Regions from separate parts of the Homo sapiens genome. Here region 1 is linked to region 2. Evidence: promoter capture Hi-C in human tissues and cell types (Jung and others, 2019). All regions are on one chromosome and are shown on one strand. Each heading gives the region's core, a stretch centred on a gene start or on the middle of the fragment in contact. The rest is flanking DNA. Distances are from core to core; before and after follow the strand shown. Region 1 has its middle 30 kb from the start of MIR557. Region 2 holds the start of DPT (dermatopontin).

What was found. The method cuts DNA at HindIII sites, captures the fragments that hold promoters and counts their contacts. A contact is called where the count stands out against the background at its distance.
Region 1: a fragment that was not itself captured here is called in contact with the fragment with the promoter of DPT in region 2 in 1 of the 25 tissues and cell types used here (hippocampus).

Annotation. Positions count from the first base shown.
Region 1 is chr1:168,343,391-168,347,096 of GRCh38, forward strand. No RefSeq gene overlaps it. Among named protein-coding and RNA genes, the nearest start is that of MIR557, 30 kb to the right of the region's middle. The HindIII fragment of the contact is 4,593 bases long and covers 1-3,706 here.
Region 2 is chr1:168,727,138-168,731,072 of GRCh38, forward strand. It overlaps DPT (dermatopontin), which reads right to left and starts at 2,069. Exons shown (of 4, transcript NM_001937.5): 1 at 1,733-2,069. The coding sequence starts at 2,037. The HindIII fragment of the contact is 7,078 bases long and covers 1-3,935 here.

The DNA.
Region 1 (3,706 bases), core at 351-2,850, 380 kb before region 2:
TTTGGTAGAGTTGTCTGACCTGACACCTCGATATTAGAGGTGTATGAAAAGAGACAAAGCTTGTGGTTTTCTGAGGCCCCCCTGCTACCTGCTTGGCAGTGAAAATGTGAAGGTTTCATAATAAGTTGTTGGCTCTGGAGGAGATGGTTCTACATGTTTTACTGGTGTCCAAGGTCTACCGATGACTCTAGGGCCTGCAGTACTAATGAGCATCTCGTAGACAGTATATGGACCTCAGGCAGATGTTAAGATAGGGCCAGCCGAGGAGCTTTCTAATTGAGGAGGATTTACTCAGAAGGAAGAGTCCATCTGTGTTCTTTGAGCGTTTTGGAGAGTGGATGATCGAGCCCACTGTGTAACACAGCCCTGTTGTATTGCTGCCTCCTAGAGGAAGGACAAGGACAAGTGGGGGACAGAGGAGGCAGTGAAAACAGGAGTGGATCATTAGGGCCCAGAACACCTGAGTCCTGTCTCTCTAGGAAAAGCCAAGGTATCATGAGACCTCTGGTTGTTAGAATGTCGTAAGCCCACCCCACCATCCCTGCTCCCCACTCCCTCTCACATGCACTGCTGCTTCAAAAGGATTTTTTTTTGAGTGCTGCCAAAGTCCTTTAAGAAGCCAATCTATTTCATCTGAGACTGTTACGCTTGCAAAAGTGATCTTGCTGAAGATGAGCTTTTCAGCTTGCTTGTTAGCTACTTAGGTAGCTCTAGAGACCCCCAGGAGATGATACAAAAGGCCAAGGAGAGGAAGCCAGAATCAGAGCAAGCGTGAGAGCCCCCATGAGATACGTTGTCTTTTTCTGTCTGTCATCTAAGCAGCCCTGAATTCCAAGGGTAGTAGAGATTTGTAAGTATGTAGAGGATAAGAATCCTGATTTTGCCATCTGTGGGCTCTGAGTTGACATCCTCACGTTTCAGGGTCTTCATGTGACTCACAGTGAAACAGGGAACTTGGTCTATGTACTCAATGTCTTCTCATACCCCTCTTCTTCTCTTAGTAGCCTGGGTGATGGAATGAGACACATCTACTTGCTGTCCTGGGTCAATGGACTACTTACCCCTCATAAGTGCTTCTTAGGCTCAACTTTCTGGTATTTAAAAATTGCCTGACATCCCTCCTTCTTCAGGAAACCTTCTTTGACTAAAGAGTAAGATTCAGTTAATAATGAATCCCCTACATTTACGCACCAAAATTTATTTCTTTGCTTACAGTATAAATGATTTCCTGGTAAATCTGTGTGTTTATGCTAGGTTTGCTCATAGTTTGCATTTTCTCTATGCTTCCAAGTTTGCTGTGCTGTGTCCTAGATTTCTGTTTGCCAGAGGGCATGCAAATGAGGAGGTTGCCAGGATGAATGTTAAGTAAATCGATGTATAAAACATAATGTCCAAAAATATGGGCATGGTGCTTTATAGCTTACAGATATTTCACATATTTTACCGAATTTGACCTTTGCCCTATCACTGTTAGCCAAGATGATTATGCTCATGCTATAGATAGGAAACCGAGGCTGAGAAGTTAAGTAAGGGCACTGTCTTAGGGCAATCAGTTGGGAAGTGGCAGGAAGGTTTTTGTTACTGAAGTCCATGCTGTACTTGGGTATCTTAAACTGTTCCCAGTTTAACATAGTTAGGTGCTGGACACACATACCTGATGATAAGGGATGGAGTTGTTGTGACCTGAGTTAAGACAGATAAAAAACAAAATGAAAAGGTGCTGTATGTGGGTTAATTTGCCATAATGTTTTCCCTCTGTCTCACTGTCTCCTCTGTTTCCTGATTTCTTTTTTTAAGTGACAGAGTCTTGCCACCTTGCCCAGTCTGGAGTGAAGTGGCTATTCACAGGCATGATCACAGCACACTACAGCCTTAAAATCCTGGGCCCAAGGGACCCTCTTGCTTTAGCCTTCTGAGTAGCTGAGATTATAGGCTTGCACCTCTATGCCCAGCTTCTCTCTTGATTTTTAAAGGTAGTTTTATTCATTTTTTTCCCTGAGTATCAGTGTGGTTACTGTAGAAAAAGTAGAACTTTCTTTTTTTATTGAGACGGAGTCTAGCTCTGTCACCAGGCTGGAGTGCAATCTCGGCTCACTGCAACCTCCGCTTCCCGGGTTCAAGCGATTCTCCTGCCTCAGCCTCCTGAGTAGCTGGGATTACAGGCACACGCCACCATGCCCAGCTAATGTTTGTATTTTTAGTAGAGACAGGGTTTCACCATGTTGGCCAGGGTGGTCTCAATCTCCTGACATAGTGATCTGCCCACCTCAGCCTCCCAAAGTGCTGAGATTACAGGAGTGAGCCACTGCGCCAGGCCAGAATTTTCTTTATGAAAAGCCAGACAAATGCTCTCCAAATTCAAAGTAACCATGAAAGTGATGGTCAAAACTGGAAAAAAGAGAGAACTTGAGCCCAAATCAATGCTGTTTTTTTTTTTTTTTTTTTTTTTTTTATTCTTGAGGCTCTGAGCAGCTGGCCCCAAATAGCCAGATGCTGCTAAGGATCAAGGTCTTGCTTCCACTGCAGGTTTTTCTTGTTCTTGACTTTGTGGTAAAACAGAATGGGTGAGTGGAAAAGGCTCCATCATCTTGGGAGCTTGGCAGACCTAATTTGAAACATTGTCTCTGCATATCTGAGCTGAGATACTTGACAAAATTTTTAAAGCTTATTGAGCCTTAACTACCTCATGTGTAGGATGAGGCCCCATAATCCTTAGTTTGCAGTGCGGTTTTGAGATTAAGGCAGATAATACTTGTCAAATGCCTGGCACTTTGCAGGTAGCAGCTTTAAAACAGAAACAAGTGAACCTAAGCTCCTGTCTGATATCAAAGTAGTTGCTAGGATATTGTACAATTTCTTGGGCCTGAGACATTAAGTCAACTGACAAGTTTCAAGAAGGAAGAAATCTAGGTTGGGCATTGCTGTCTAAGTGTGATGCTTACAAGGTTGCCCACAAAGGCAGCCCTTTCTCTTGGATAGGGATCTGCTCTGGGCAATTTAACCTTCCAGGAGTCATGCAAAATGATTTTAAAATGACCATTTAAATTTTATCCCAAAGAGGTACAGCCATTATGGAAAATAGTATGGAAGTTCTTCAGAAAACCAAAAACAGAACTACCATATGATCCAGCCATCCCACTTCTGTGTACCTATCCAAAGGAACTGAAATCAGAATCCTGGAGAGATATTTGCACTCCCATGTTCACTGTGTTAATAGCATAACTTACATCCACCAAGATATGAATACTGCTTAAATGTCCACCAGTGGATGAATAGATAAAGAAAGTTTGGTATATACATAAGATGGAATATCAGTCAGCCTTAAAATAGAAGGAAACCTTGCCATATGCAACAACATGGATGGACCTGGAGGGCATTATGCTAAGTCAAATAAGACAGACACAGAAAGACAAATACTGTACGGACTCACTTATATGTGGAACCTACAATAGCCAAACTCATAGAAGCAGAGAGTAGAATGGTGGTTGCCAGGAGCTCAGGGGAAGGGGAAATGAGGAGGTGATGGTTGAAGGGTATAAGGTTTCAGTTATGCAAGATAAATAAGTTCTGGAGATGTACTACACAGTGTAGTGCCTATGGCTAACAATATTGTCTTCTATACATAAAATTTGCTAAGAGGATAGATGTTGTTAAGTGTTCTTGCCAAGCAAGAAATAATCACAACAGTAATGATATTAAAAGGGGC
Region 2 (3,935 bases), core at 819-3,318:
GAGTCAGCTGTCGGGTGGGAGCCCACTCTGGGTGGAGGCAGCAGCCTCTCAGGAGCCCGTCACTGTGGCAAAGTACAAACTCTTTGAAGCAAAGACTCTGTGGATCCAAACCCCAGCTTTCTAGCCGAGGAAATACTGGATCTCTAGACTGCAGTTTGTCTACCTATAAATGGGATATACCCTTGTTTTGAGCATTACACGAGATGATCCACATAAAGCACTTAGCATGGAGCCTGCTCAGGGTAAGCACTCAATAAATGGTAGCTGTTGTCATTACTTAAAGGCCCGCTCTCTTTCCTGGCTCCCCCACCCATCGGTGTTTCTTCCTCTTGGATTTCCCATCATCACCTCTCTACTGGTTGTGTCCCCCAGGGTTCTATGCTTTTTCTTTTTTCTATTTTCTTTTTTTTTTTTTTTTGAGGCAGAGTCTTGCTCTGCCACCCAGGAGGGAATACAGTGGTGCGAGCATGGCTCACTGCAGCCTCGACTCCCTGGGCTCAAGTGATCCTCCTACCTTAGCCTCCTGAGTAGCTGGGACCACAGGCTGCATGCAACTACACCGGGCTAATTTTTTTTTTTCTGTAGAGATAGGGTCTGGCTGTGTTCCCTAGGCTGGTCTCGAACTCTTGATCTCAAGTGATCCTCCCTCCCCAGCCTCCCAAAGTGTTTGGGATTACAGGCGTGAGCCACCACACCTGGCCAGATTTTGTGCTTGACCCCTCCAATCCCCACTACACTAAGTACTTGTTGCCACACATCTGGGTTGCTCTACAGATAGCACATGCAGCAGCCCTCCAGGTGGGCTTCCTCCTCCCTGGACTGCCTCCTCCGTTCTCTCCTCCAAGCCTCCTAGAGTGCTGGCTCCATCTAGGCTGTTGTAAATAATCAGCCTAGCAGTCAGTGCCTACTAGGATGAGCTCCTGACCAAGCACCTGGGCTGAGACCCAGCTGAGACAATCACACCCCACAAAAAAGTACAAGCTCGAAAAAATTCCATGCCACTGCTTAAGGCAGAATGCAGTCAGGGGAAGACAGCACCTCTCTCCAAAACCCTTTAGTAAACTATTTTCCAGCAATAAAACCCACTTTAAATTCAGGCAGAGAGAAGGACCTCAGTACTCATAATTGAGAGAGCACATTTAATCAAGGCAGTAGACAGCTATTTAATTCCACTTTCTTTTGCCTAAATGTCCTTGTCCCCTCTTTTCCATTCACTTGCTCTAAATCAATAGTTCTCAAACCCTCCGTGCTGAGAGATCAATTGTTTATTTTTCTTGTTCCCAAACTACTGTGGGCCAGTACTTTTGTAAAATGGTAAAAATAAATTTCTAAAAAAGAAAAATGCCATTCCGATGGCACAGAAAGTTTTAATTTCTATAAAGTTTATTACTTTCAGTTTCTGTACATATCTTTTGGTAGTCTGGTAAGCAAGCTTCTCGCCGACCTACACCAGCCCCTGGCCCAAACTGAGAGTAGGTAGAACAGCTTCTGGAAGGAACAGAGCCACAGAGGAGTCTGTCTCCCACAGACACTCCCCATCCCAGGTTTTTGTCCTGTCATGTAGTCCGCTCAGCAGCAGCCCTGCTCCACCCAGAGCATGCAGTGGTGAGGTTTGGGGTGGGATTTGCCCAGGCTTTGGTTACTGATATTCCTTGAGAGTCTAGCAGCCCCCAGGAGGAGGGATATGCAGAGATGTTCCCAGCCCCAGTGCAGTGCAGGGACTGGCCCTTACCATTCCATGCCAGCCCTGTTGATCTCCTCCCACCAGCACTCCGTGGGTTCCCCGAGGCTCTGTGGCGTGGGCATGCAGGCGTAGTTCCATTGTCTGTCAGAACCTTCCTTCTTGCTGAAGATGCTCCTCACGGCCACTATCACCTGCCCCTGGGGACACTGGTAGCTGAAGCCTTGCCGGTTCAAATTCACCCACCCATCATCGCTGTAGTCATGATACTGCTGGTATGGGTATCCATAATCGCCATACTGGCCCCAGGCCATGGTGACTAGGGGCAGAAGTACCCAGAGAAGACTGAGGTCCATGCTGCCTGGGATTTTGGCAAACAATGTCACTCTAAGATTGCTGGTCTGACCGTTTTATATAGCTGCCGCTGACATGTGGCTTCCAGATGTGGGTGAGAAGGATCCAACTGCAGTGTGTCATTGCTTAAGCAAAACTTTTCCATGCTGAGATGTCAGCCATAAGGACATTCAGCTTGTTTTAAGGTGGAATTCTAGGAATATACCAGCAGCATGTAAGTCTAAGAAGCTCCCTGGAGAAAGAACAACTTTGTATCTAGATTATAAAAGCCAACTGCTGCTCTACCCTGTAGAAATATTCACTTGAAAAACACTGATTAGTAGCATATTTGTCCCTCACCTTTCAGCACCTCACCCCTTTCTGTCCTACCCTACCCGCTACTAGCAAACCCCTGTATTTGTTCTCCAAACTAGCCTTCCGGGCCACACAAATACCCAGACAGTGATTTCAAAATACCGAAATCATAGACTGAAGTAACAGAGCCATCTAGGATTTCTGTAAGGCTGAATGCCTGTTTTTTTTTTTAAGTTGTCAATCCAACACTTTTTAACCCTTGAGTATAAGCGCGGGTATACCAGTTTGCAGGGCTACTCTGAGAACTCATAAGTTGCATAAGGAAGTACTATGGGCCCATGGGGAGATAAGTTGGATATGATTTCTACACTTAAGCATTCTACCATGCTGCTGAAATTGGACCCAGTCAAGTCTAGAAAGTGTGCTCTGCTCTCAAAATGTAATGGGTTTAATCTAAATAAACCCCCTATTTATCCTTCAGTATTTTTGCCCTCACATTGAATTTTCTTTTCATTGAGTTATAATTTACATATAATTAATTCACCTTTTAAAATACATAATGTACAGTAACATAGCCAGCACCCTAATCAAGACTTAGAACAGTTCCATCAATCCAAAACATCCCCTTATATCCCTTTGCAGTCAAATCTTCCCAAACACCCAGCCATTGGTAACCACTGATTTACTTTCTGTCTCTATGGTTTTGCCTTTTCCAGAATGTCAAGTAAATGGAATCATACCACACGTAGCCTTTCATGTCCATCTTTCACTTAGCATAATGCTTTTAAGGTTCATCCATTTTAAAATTCAACATCTCATTGTATGTGTTAGTATTTTGTTTCTTGTTATTGTTGAGTAATATTCCATAGCATGGATGTACCACAGATTGTTTATACATTTACTAGTTGAAAGACATTTGGGTTGTTTCCAGTTTTTGAAAATTCATTACTTTTTATGTAATGAATTTTATATTCATTATATTTTATATAATGAATTACATAAATGTAATTATAAAGTTGATATAAACATCTATGTATAGGTTTTTGTGTGAACAAATTTTTATTTCATTTGGGTCAATACCTAGGAGTGAGATTGCTGGTTCACAAGGTAATGTATGTTTAACTTTAAAAGAAACTACTGAGGCCGGGTGTGGTGGCTCATGCTTGTAATCCCAGCACTTTAGGAGGCCGAGGCGGGCGGATCACGAGGTCAGGAGATCGAGACCATCCTGGCTAACATGGTGAAACCCCGCCTCTACTAAAAATACAAAAAATTAGCCAGGCTTAGTGGCGGGCGCCTGTAGTCCCAGCTACTCGGGAGGCTGAGACAGGAGAATGGCGTGAACCCGAGAAGCGGAGCTTGCAGTGAGCCGAGATTGTGCCACTGCACTCCAGCCTGGGCTACAGAGCGAGACTCCGTCTCAAAAAAACAAAAAAAAGAAAGCAAGAAACTACCTAGCTGATTTCCAAAGTGGTGATACCATTGCCCACCACTACCAGAAAATTGCCATTAAAAAATTTTAGCTATTCAAATAGGTTTGTAGTGATATTTCAGTGTGGTTGTGATTTTCATTTCTCTAATGATCCATGATTTTGAGCATCTTTTC